Regions from separate parts of the Homo sapiens genome. Here region 2 is linked to region 1. The links are contacts of gene promoters, found by promoter capture Hi-C in blood cells and fetal thymus (Javierre and others, 2016). All regions are on one chromosome and are shown on one strand. The core of a region is centred on a gene start or on the middle of the fragment in contact, and the rest is flanking DNA. Distances in the headings are between cores, read along the strand shown.

The links. The method cuts DNA at HindIII sites, captures the fragments that hold promoters and counts their contacts. A CHiCAGO score of 5 or more calls a contact.
Region 2: a fragment that was not itself captured here is called in contact with the fragment with the promoter of PPID in region 1 in 5 of 17 cell types (erythroblasts, monocytes, megakaryocytes and 2 more); the score reaches 8.1 in erythroblasts.

Annotation. Positions count from the first base shown.
Region 1 is chr4:158,721,120-158,726,904 of GRCh38, forward strand. PPID (peptidylprolyl isomerase D) reads right to left here and starts at 2,277. Exons shown (of 10, transcript NM_005038.3): 1 at 2,085-2,277; 2 at 224-364. The coding sequence starts at 2,169. RefSeq lists enhancers at 1,687-2,270, 1,904-2,383, 2,271-2,855. The HindIII fragment of the contact is 3,604 bases long and covers 129-3,732 here.
Region 2 is chr4:158,208,749-158,215,416 of GRCh38, forward strand. TMEM144 (transmembrane protein 144) reads left to right here and starts at 1,738. Exons shown (of 13, transcript NM_018342.5): 1 at 1,738-1,838; 2 at 2,705-2,826; 3 at 3,860-4,028; 4 at 6,443-6,565. The coding sequence starts at 3,920. RefSeq lists enhancers at 1,126-1,680, 1,581-1,670. The HindIII fragment of the contact is 3,053 bases long and covers 502-3,554 here.

The DNA.
Region 1 (5,785 bases), core at 1,027-3,526:
GGGTAAAGCTAGGGGAGTCCATTTCTCTATAGATAAACCTTAGTACCATAAGTAATTCCACCTCGCACAGCCTAACCTTTACGAAACTGCGTTACTGCCTCAGACATGGACGCTAATAGTACTTTTTAAGCTTCACTTCCTACTTAGTGTTTTCTTCCCCAAATCCTAAAGAACAGGACTTGTCTGTATGAAGAATAACAAGATTAAGAAAATTTACACATACTTCGATGAAAAGGGCATCCTTTGAAATGGAGAGGTTTCCCAGTCGTGTGTCCAATGCCTTTTTCTCCTGTACACAGTGCACGAAAATTTTCCGCAGTTTTGGGTACGATATCTGCAAACAATTCTAAGACAATTCGACCAACTAAAAGAAAAGAAAATCTTGTCAGTATGCAAAACAACCAAATAGACAAATGATAAAAAGAAGGTTGGTATAATTATGGTAGCAGATCAATCATGAATTACCAAGTTCCCCTTTACTGTAATTTTTCTTTTTTGCAATTTCAAGAACACAACACATTGCTACTAACTATAGTCATTATGTTATACAATAGATCTCTTAAATTTATTCCCCCTTTCTAACTGAAATTAGGTCTCTCGTGATCAACATCTACCCAACCCCTGAAATCCACCATTCCATTCTCTACTTCAAGGTCAACTTTTTAGAAACCACATGTAAGTGAGATCATGCCTTGTCTTCCTGTGCCCAGCTTATTTCATGTAACATAATGTCCTCCATATTAATTCATGTTGTCAGAAGTGACAAGATTTCATTATTTTTTATGGGTGAATAGTACTCCACTGTGCACATATATCAAATTTTAAAAAAAATCCATCTGTAGATGGAAACCTAGTTTGATTCCATTATCTTGGCTATCATGAATAATGCTGCAATGAACATGGGAGTGCAGATACCTCTTTGACATACAAACTTCATTTCCTTTGAATATACTCACTAGAATTAGTGAATCTTATTTTATTCTAATATTCAAATTTAGTCTACCTACTGTCATGTATGTATATAAACAGATTTGAAACATTACACTAAGGATCATAACCAATTATAGTAGCCAAAAGATTAGCACCATGTAAGAGATATCATTAAATACAAATAGTTTTAAATCCTGAGTAATTTCTTCAAGAGGTACTGAGAATTTCCAATCACCAAGCAACCAACGGGAGAAAATTAAACAGTCTTTGGGTGGGCGGACTTGCCACGTGTTACGTATACCTGCAGCCTTTGTGCTCTGAGCAAACTGCCTCATGCAACCTCTGAAGCAAAAGCTGTAAAAATTCCTCCTCTAGATAGCAGCTAAGACAGGTGAGATTAAACCTAGCCCTAGCTAGTTGCAACAAACTGAATGTACGTGTAAACGTGTGTGTGTCCTGTACATGCATTCAAACACATTGCCTGGCCAGCAATTCCAACGTGTTCCAGAACAAGGCCAATCCAGTTACAAAGCAACACGCTCCCTAATTCACCAGGCCTTAGGAACTTCTGAGCGGCTATGTAACCTAGGCAACACCATCACTACGTTGAGCGCATTTTCCCAATGGCAAATTAAGAGAAAATGTTTGCTCATCTGAACGGACCTCTAAATTAAGAATCAGTAATAAGGCAAAAGCAATGAGCAAACAAGTCCCTTTAACGTATAAATAACACAGCACGTGCTGATATATTATCTCATGTGGCAAATATAGTTTCCTGGGGCCCAGCAGACGCATATCCCAGGATATGCTTTCCGAACTGTCCCATTGCAAACATAAAATATTTCATGCTAACTTGGTAGTGCAAAGGTGGCGTGGAAGTGCCACCAAATCAGGAGGCAAACCTAAAGGACGCCACAATTCCCGAACTAGAAATTTCCAGAAACTTCCGCACCACCGATGGCATTGATACAAGGGCGCTGGATCGATCTAGCCCTAGATCTCCGGGCCTGCTCCGGCGGACCAGCCTAGGCAGCCATCCCCTCCGCGAAACTGAGCAGTCACCGGCCGGAGCCGCATTCCGCCCTTGGAATCCCCCAAATCCCGGGAACCCCCGCCTCCTCGGGGCTTTTCCGCGAGCGTCAGACTCCGCTCACCTCGCTCCCCTCCGATGTCCACGTCAAAGAAGACTCGAGGGTTACTGGGGTTGGAGGGCTTGGCTTGGGGGGACGGGTGCGACATCTTGACTTGCAGACGTGTTTAGTACGGAATATCAGAGTACCTAGTGGCCGCCCGGGCCGCCCAAACTCCAGAGTCCGTCTCCGCCGGAGACCGGCAGCGACGCTGACCGGCCACTTCCGACGCAAGAACCGGAAGCCATGGCCTGACTTCCGGCACCGCCCCGCTCCCCCGCGCGGTGTTTCAAAGAGCCTGAGCGACTCCGTGCAGCGAACCGCGTGCCCTCCGCCACCTGTTCCTGGCTTCTCATTTAATGAAGTTGCGATCCCAGTTCTCATTATTCTTCTCGCTTGTGTTTCGTTGTCTTTCCCACCCTCGTGGCGTAGAGAGCTTTGGAGTCAACCCCATGCCAGCGTCAGCTCTGCCACCAAGTTGGGTGTGACTTCTCAGAAACTCAGTTTGCTCCTCTGGAAAAAGAATAAAAACGCTGACCTCGGAAGGTCGTTTTGAGGATTAAAGACATGAATCAGTACAATGCCTGGCATAAACTGGTGGTACCCAACCAATAGGAGCCTTATTATTGCCATGTCGTTACAATTTGATCTTCACATTACAATGTAAGTGGTAAGGCTTAGACTAAACGCTCCAAACAGCTAAAGCTGAGAGTCCAGAAGAGAGCACAGTTTTGATTCCTGATAAAACTGTATTTGGCGGGGCGCGGTGGCTCACGCCTGTAGTCCCAGCACATTGGGAGGCCGAGGCGGGCGGATCATTTGAGGTCAGGAGTTCGAGACCAGCCTGACCAACATGATGAAACCCGTCTCTACTAAAAATAAAAAAAAAAAAAATCACCCGGGCGTGGTGGTGCTTGCCTGTAGTCCCAGCTACTCGGGAGGCTGAGGCAGGAGAATCGCTTGAACCCGGGAGGCGGCGGTTGCAGTGAACCGAGATCGCGCCACTGTACTCCAGACTGGGTGACAGAGCGAAACTGTCCCCCCCCCCCCCAAAAAAAAGAAAAACAAAAAAATACTGTATTACTATAGCCCACTTTTCCCTTATGGGGATCTGTGTAAAACATTTACTTTTTACACACACACACACACACACACACACACACACACACACACATATATATGAGGAGAACATAGCCTTGCCTCTTAATAAAGCCTAATTTTGGAGAAGAGTGGCAATTCCCTGTGTAGATGCTTTGCCCTGTAGTTCTATTGGAGCTCAGCAATTTGGATTCAGCCTGAGGCTTACTTTATCAATAAGGCAGGAGATATCCTTAGATGCTTCACATTTTTTTTTCTTATGAGAAAGTAAAAAGTATTGGAATCCAGCACTCAAATAATGTCTCAAAAGCCAGGAGCCTTGTGTCAACAGCAGCAGCCAGAGTGGCTTTTTGGAAGGAAAGACCAGTGCTAATTTTCCCCTATCAGAGCTGTCACCATCCCTCTAGATGAAGGCTCCTGCCCTACTTGCTACCCGGTCTTAGGATAAGTAAAAGTTAGAAGGGTTACGGTTAAAGAACAACTGATTCCTATTCTCAATTTGAATTTGCCTGTGATGTTATACACTGGACTAAGCACGAAAGTTGATGTTAAAAAAGAAAAAAAAAAAAGCAAAAGCTTCAAGTTCTGACTACATGTATACTAGGCATGTTACCAAAGAAAAGTCATTTAATTTCTCTGAACCCTTCTCATTTCCTTTTCGGTAAAGTGCCAAAGAACAGGGTATGAGAATGGAAAAAGATAATGTGTAAGCATTTGCCTTGTAATCTCTAAAGCATTCTTATACACTCTTTTTTAAATTACTGAAAATTAGATGCTATAGTGCCTGAAGTTGTTTTAAAATAACCTGGAGTCAGGTAAGTGGGTTGGGTTGTGGATGAAACATAAGGGCCAGGCAGATGATTGGTGCATGGGAGTTTATTATACTACTCTTCTTTATTTTGCACATTTAAATTTTTTCATAATATTTTAAAAAGTAAAAGAGAAATTACATGTATTACTAGCTACTCATAATAAAACCAATTTGTTGGCCGGGTGTGATGGCTCACGCCTGTAATCCCAGCACTTTGGGAGGCCAAGGTGGGTGGAAGGCTTGAGCCCAGGAGTTCAAGACCAGCCCAGACAACATGGTGAAACCTCATCTCTACAAAAAATATTTTCTAAACAATAAATAAATAAATAATAAAACCAATTTATAGAGTCGTTTTTAATTAAAATACCAACATACCTTTTGTGAAAAAATAAATAATAGGTGTCGGTGAAATTTTAGGACAAATCAGTAAGGATATTATATTGATTGAATTTTTCTGTGTAATCACAAATTTGCCTTATTAACAAAATGCATACATACATAGGCATGTCCACATAGATACTCAGCAAAAGTTGATTCAATTATATGACAAATATTTAGCTCTTACTGTATGCCAGCCTCCATTCTGAGTGCTGATGATACAATGATGAAAAAACATATTCCTTATCCTTTTTTTTTTTTTTTTTTTTTTTTTGAGACAGGGTCTTGTGCTATCACCCAGGCTGGAGTGCAGTGGTGCAATCACAGCTCACAGTAGCCTCAACCTCCTGGACCCAAGTGATCTTCCCACCTCAGCCTCTTGAGTAGCTGGGACTACAGGCACATGCCGCCATGCCCAGGTAATTTTTTTTTTTAATTTTTAAGTGTAATTCAAAATGATTTCCTATCAGATTTCCTTGCTGATCCTTTCAAATTCCAGCACATTAAAGTTAATACAAAATGTTAATTTCTTATGTTCTCCAATTCCTGGTGTTTATTCATGGTATTTATTCATGGTGGTTCCCTGAAGATCCAGGACGGCTCAGAACAAAACTCCTGTGTCTCTTGATAAACAAGAGCATCAAAATCATTCATTAATCCAGTCTCATGTCTGGGCTGCAAACTGATAACTTATATTTTGTCTCATATATATCACAATAAGTTCACATTAACATTTTTATTCTGATCTACTAGCTTAAATTTAACATTTTAGTAGAGATGGGGTTTCGCCATGTTGCCCAGGCTGGTCTTGAACTCCTGGGTTCAAGCAATCTGCCCACCTTGGCCTCCAAAAGCATTGCAGGCATGAGCCACCACGCCTGGCCCCTTATCCTTAACTACACAAATTATACAGTCTTATGGGGGAGAAAGACTATTGAATAAACCTCTACAATGCAATATAATTAGTGTTTTAATAGGAAAAAGACAATCACATTCAGCACACAGCAGGGGCACTGAACACAGTAGCCTTTTCTAAGGTCAGAAATATGAGTAAGATCAGTCACAGGAGCATATGTGGCAAGGAAGACAGGTAAGGAGGGAACAGGTAAAGAGCATCTTCAAAGGAGGGGAACTATATATACTTATAAAGTGAAAATGGGCAACGAGAATGTTATTTCTCCATGAGAAGCCAGTTTTTTAGATAGTGCTGCTACTTCAGGTGGGTGTGGACCACTTGTGTATTAGTCCATTTTTCACACTGCTATAAAGGAATACCCGAGACTGTGTAATTCATAAAGGAAAGAGGTTTAATTGACTCACAGTTCCACATGACTAAGGAGGCCTCAGGAAACTTACAATCATGGCAGAAGGTGAAGGGGAAGCACACTTGGACCTTCCCACGTGGTGGCACGAGATAGAAGAGTGAGGAGCGAAGGGG
Region 2 (6,668 bases), core at 778-3,277, 510 kb before region 1:
GAGTTTCCATGAGAAATATTGCTAACAGACGAAGCTAAAGTCAGAACCTGGATCTTCTAGTGTCTGCCAGGACTCTCCCAATACAGACCATTCTGTTTAGGCATTCATGTATACGAAACAATTTGAAAGAAAAATTTTAGTTTAAGAATAGAGTCATGCATGTTTGGATTTGCTCTGTGGCATAATGTAAAAGGCAATGGCCTAGCATATCCCTAATGAATCTTCTCAGGCCTAATTCAGCCCCCAACTCACTTTTAGACTTTAGAAATTCTCAGCAAATGCTGACACAAGCTTCAGTTTCTCCATGTGAGTGAAGCAAGAATAAACCACATGATCTTGTGACCATGAAGTGAAACAATTCTAGGTTGGATTTAGGCCCTATATTTTTGGAAGCAAGTTTGTGTATGTGTGTGTGTCTTAGGTGTGCATGTGTGGAAAGGGGAACTGATTTCTTCAAAATCTTTCTGAACTGCTAAATTAATCCTCTTCCTTAAGTGAAAAAGCTTTGCTGCTTTAATTCTTTAAATGAAATGTTATTTTGCCTTCCCATCTGCTCATCTGACATGATAGTCTATGGATGTGATTAATGTTTAAGGCAGAACTTCCTTCTAGGAAATGTCATATTTTAACAGTCCTTGTGTTTTCTCCTTCCTGTGAATGCTACACCCATTACCAACCACTGGATGGTCTCGGGTTAAATAGCACTTCCTCAGAGAAGGCTTCTTTGAACTCAGACTAGCACAGAACCTACACTTCCCCTTTCCAACTTAAAGTTTGCATCCTTTGGTGTATGCGAACCCACATGAAGAGATGTTTTTTTTGTTTTGTTTTTTTTTTGAGAGGACTCCCTCACTTTGGGAGGGCGAGGCGGGCGGATCACCTGAGGTCAGGAGATCGAGACCATCCTGGCTAACACGGTGAAACCCCGTCTCTACTAAAAATACAAAAAAATTAGCCAGGTGTGGTGGTGGGTGCCTGTAGTCCCAGCTACTCAGGAGGCTGAGGCAGGAGAATCGCTTGAACCCAGGAGGCGGAGGTTGCAGGGAGCCGAGATTGCACCACTGCACTCCAGCTTGGACGAGAGCGAGACTCCGTCTTAAAAAAAAAAAATACAGATAAATGGCCTGTACAGATAAATGGCTTAGGTGCATCTACAAAGAATTAGTGATTACAAGTGAAATCTTGTAATGTCACAAGAAATGTTAATGACGTCAGTGGTGCAGATGAATTTCTTAATACCAAGTGGAAAAATTCACTTGAGATAATCTTTTACAATGGTGTGAAATTCCTCAGACTTTTGTTTTATCCATAAACTGCACAAATAATACCTCCCTCTGTGACACTTAGAGAGGGTGACATGCTGAGAGTTTCCTGAATAATCACCTCTTGAAATACACAAAACTCTTCTAGTTTCCTGGTTGACCGACCCAGGGCTTGACGACTCCTTTTGAGCCACCTGACAATTCAGTCCAGCACAGCAACTGAAGGAAGGCGTTCCCCAACCTGCTGTCCTATGAAGGCCTCTAGGTCACCGGTGCTAAAGCCCTCCTTTCTCCACCCTCCTTAAGTGGAGGTAAACGTCCCAGCAGGAAGTCAAGGCTGGATTGGCGCTCTTCGCGAGCACCCTGGGAACGGGAGTCTGGGTCACGGGTGCTAGAGCCCTCCCCTCTCCTCCCGGCCGGTGTATGGGAAATTGTCCCCGCAGAAAGTAAAGGCTGGCCAGGCCGCCCCCAGCACGTAGAGGGAATGAGTCAGGCTCCGGCTCCACACTGGCACGTAGTGGGCGGATCGCGCCGGCGCTGAGTAGGAAGGAGCTTCAGCCGCCAGCCCGGAACGCAGTGAGTACAGCCACTCAAAGGAAAGCCAAGTCGCTTTGCAGGGGAGCGTCTCATGATTTTTCAGAAACGTGCTCATGGTTAAAAAGAAAAATCAAGGCTCGGAATAAATACATTCAAGCACTGTTAATTTTAGCCCAAAGACAGGCGGTACTTGCCTGGAGATTTGGGAAAATCAACATGAAACTAAAAATGAAATTTTAGTTGGAGTGGAGCAAGCAGTATTGATCAGAACATACCAAATACGAATTTTTTCAAAGTCTGCGTAGAAGTTTAAATTACTAGGAAAAATGTAAAGGAGAAGTATTTACTAATAAATGAAACAAAAGTAATAAAATAAAAATGAATTAATATAGTTTGACAAAATATCAGCGAACGCTGAAAAGAAAACATTAAAATAATGTTTGAGACTTTTTAGGTTTTGTGCAGGAAGAATTGGGAAAAATGTGCTGGATGGAGTGATACTGCTTTTCTTTTCCACAAAAATTTCATTATTTTAGAGAGCGGTAGAGCCTTTTTAAAGACAGTAAGTTATTGCCAATTCACAATGAAATAAGATCACATGCTCTGAAATGTACAAGAGCTGCATGCAATAAACTTCATTTATCTATAGGTAATAACTGATTGATGTTTATTCAGTAGTCGAAATGCACCTCATGCACTCTAATTAGCACGTCAAATTAGTCTCTCCGTTTCAGAGGTGTAGGGCCTTTGTGGAGCCTTCTCAATAAAATAATTTGCCACTCTTGAAGGTTAGACATTCTCTTCTATCAATGTACACATAAAGGTTTTGTTTTGCTTTGCTTGTTGTGAATTAAAATGGGGAGAAAATGATGTGTTAGCTATCACCCAGTCATGTGTCTTTTTAGTCATAGGTTAGCTTTTCAAGACACTTCCTGCATCTCTGACCTGTTGCACCTCTGTTATCTTGGCACCTCTGTTATCTTAGCAGCAAGCACCTGCCTCAGCTGACCCTTGAGCCATAACCCATGTAAGTCACTGCAGGGCTGAACCTCTCTTTGAGCCTAACAGTAGAATAATAATTATTTTTATTGAATAGTGTTAATGTGTCAATGTTGAAATGTGCCTCAGTGTGTCTTCCTCAACCACATCCCTATAGAGGATGTTTTCTTAATAGCAATGTGTTTTTGTTTTAAGAAAGTCCACACAATTTCAAATACACATTTTCTTTACTAAAGTTTATTGACCAGTTTTGAAGTGATCCTTGTTTTCAGTTAAACTATCTTTAATAATGGTAAATAACATATTTTGTAGGTTGTTGTATATTTAATATTCTCTGCAAGAACACATAAGGAACAATACATGGACCTTTAAATATTTGTCATTGTGAAATAAAATAACAAGGAAAGGTGATTTCAGGTGTACTTTATTCAATACATATATACAAGAAGTTATTACTATAACATTAAATTTGCAGGAAAAAAGAAACCACTGGATTATTCTGCTTCTATTCCAGAGGGCTTATTCCAAAGGGCCAGTGTGCAAAATATGAATCCAAGATGGCATTGTGGAAAGACGCTGTACCTCCTGTGATAAAATTACTTTGGTGGTGCTTTTTTCTCATGTATCTCGGGAAACTAAAAATCTGAATTGTATTCAGTGGCCTTTTCCAAATGGTAACTTTATGAAAAAATGTCTAATTCTTGGTTATTTGTGGTTTTAGTCCTTTCTTCATAGAGAAGCTAAAGCTGTTAAATAAGCTTAGCAGCGTTATCCGCTAAAACTTTCTGCAGTGATGGAACCTACACAGGAGAATTTTTTTTGTAATGTACTAAAAATTTGTCTTCAGGGCTTGTTCTTTTTAAATTGTAGGCTAGTGATCAAAAATATTTGGTGATAGAATAAATTAACATGAAGTACAAACATTATATATAGTTGTGTAATATCCTATCTGCAAAAAGGAGTCTTAGCGTGCTTTTGAAAAATTCAATAAATATAATATGTTAATCACAATTTGGTCACAGATTCACGTCTCAATTGTTTCATTTTTTCTTTTATTTCAGAAGCTCCTGAAAAGTACATCAAGTCTAAAGTGAACCAGCTAACTCATTAAGACTGGAATCATGAGCAACAATGGAGCAGACCTAACCTTTGGTTACATCTCCTGTTTTGTAGCTATCCTTTTGTTTGGCTCAAATTTTGTGCCACTTAAAAAATTTGATACTGGTGATGGTAATTATTTTTCCTTGATTGTTAACGTTATATTATTTTTAAAAATGAAGTTCCTTTTTTGGTCTTTTAAAAGTATAGCTACAAAAATAAATCATGTTGATCTTGATACCTAGTGAATAGAGCTTAAAATTAGTCATTTGACAGTGCTCATACCAGTTTGTCTGAAAGTCAGAATAGGAGAACCATTAAGGTTGTTTCATGGTAAAGTTAGGGAGGGTACAGTCAGGAAATCTCTTGGGCCATTATATGAATGGAAGAAATTTATAGTCAGTTCTACTATAACACCTGTTTTGAAAACATGAATCTTCAACATGATTGATATATTAGAGAACAATGTAAGCATAACAGATTTTTGGCTTGCTTATGTGCAATTTTGTCCCTGAGAAACCTCTAGATAGGCACAGAAGACTGCACCTAGATGAATAAAGATGTGTGATAATACACATAATGCACGCAGACACACGTACAATCTTCAAATATCGACCAGCTCCCTTAGTTCATCACATGTGGTTATGATGTATTCCACCCAACCACATCTCCTGTCCCAACTCCTCACCCAATACCTTCACAGTAACTCGTAAGCTGCAACCCTTTGGATGCTCACTTCCAGGAGCAAACTTCTGGTGTTTTTCAATTAAAATGCCCTATTTATTACAGCATCATGTAATTAACCAGTTAACCAGTTAAAACTGTACTACTATTTTAATTAGGTTGAGTGTTGTTCTCCTAGCCCCATTTTCCCATTATGCTCTGTAGTTTTTACTGCATGATTTTGCATAGTGCAGTGATTTCAAGGAATGCACATGTTACATTATAGCAGAACTGACTAATGTGAATTTTGGGGAAGGAGAAGCAAGAGTTATTTGTATTTGCCTGACTTCCATATTAAAGCCAGGAGAAGGAATTGAGATTTATGGTGAACACATGTTGGGAATTACTTCCTTGGTAGTATTTATCACCTGACAGCAGTTGTGTTATTTCCCCAATTCTTTGTCTTCGTGCACTTAGAAAATAGGATTACCTCCTATTTTCCTCCAGGGCCTTTCTTCTCTTTTCCTCTGGAGTTAGGACAAGAATGGGAACTACCCGAAGAACAAAAAAATGGGTAGAGGATCTAGCTTTTTTAGTCTTCCACAATTAGCTTTGTGATCCTGGGCAAATATTACCAGCTCTGCTGTTTTCAGTTTCTCATTTGTAAAGTGAACAACTTATAAAATGAAGTTTCTTTTCATCTCTGTGATTCTACTCTTTTTATTTTTTATTTTTCATTTTTTTGGGGAGATAGAGTCTCACTCTTTCACCGAGGATGGAGTGAAGTATCATAATCTTGGCTCACAGCAACCTCCACCTTTAGGGTTCAAGTGATTCTCATGTCTCAGCCTGCCAAGTAGCTGGAACTACAGGCACACACTACCACACCCGGCTAATTTCTTATATTTATGGTAGAGACGGAATCTCAAGGGCTGGTCTCGAACTCCTGAGCTCAGGCAGTCCACCTACTTTGGCCTCCCAAAGTGCTAGGATTACAGGCCTAAGCCACCACGCCTGGCTGATTCTACTCTTTTGTCATGGAGATTAGCAGCCATCTTTTCTCTCTCCTCCATCATGAGATTGAATCCAAGAGGGGCAACAATCTTCCAAAGTTAGTGCCAGAAGTAATACATTGAGTTTTAACTGCCTCAGTATTTCTTTCAATGTCAACTATTTCCTCATCCTTTTAATCTCTAAATCCTTAATGATGCAGAAGCCTCAAAAAGGTACAGATACACCTCATCACCAGGTTATCTTCAGATAACTGGAAAATGGCAACTCAAAGTATAGAAAGCAGAGTAACCTTGACCTAGATAGCTAATTCTCAGGTTTATAATGCCCGACTCATCATAGGCATTGAACTCTAACTGTATGAGGCCTATGTGTGACCATAAATGGCTTTATTTTTATCCCAGAGGTGGCATAAATGGTCCCTGAAGGTTTACTGTTGTGCTATTCCGAAGCACTTACTGCCATATTTTGGGAAGCAAGAGTACTCAGTGTGGCATCTGAATGAGAATATACACTCGGTCTTGCCATCACTCTTGGGCAGAAAATTCTTGATTTGTCTAATAGGAGGAAAAAAAGAATGTTAAGCCAGAGCACACCGTGTCTAAGCCTTGGAGTCAACCTGGGTTTAAATTCCAGCTCAACAAACTACTAGCTGTTTGGACAGGTTGCTTAATTGAAGATTCATTTTCTCTATCTTTGAGCTAGGGTTAATTATGTTGCAGAGTAGTCATAAGAATGAAATGTGCAAAGTCCATGGCATATGGCATTTAATAAATTGTGGCCATTCCTGTAATATCACCTCATAGATATTCCTGAGCACAAATTTACTCAATTCAATTTGAACCACTAACACTGAGTTTGTTTATTTCTAGGAATGTTTCTCCAGTGGGTTCTTTGTGCTGCCATATGGTTGGTTGCCTTGGTTGTCAATCTGATATTACATTGTCCAAAGTTTTGGCCTTTTGCAATGCTTGGGGGCTGCATTTGGGCAACAGGTAATGTCTGATATAACTTATACTTTTATTATGTAACATAATGATAAAAATAATTCTCGTTCACAATAGGAGGAAATAGCGCAAACAGTGATTCTGAATAACC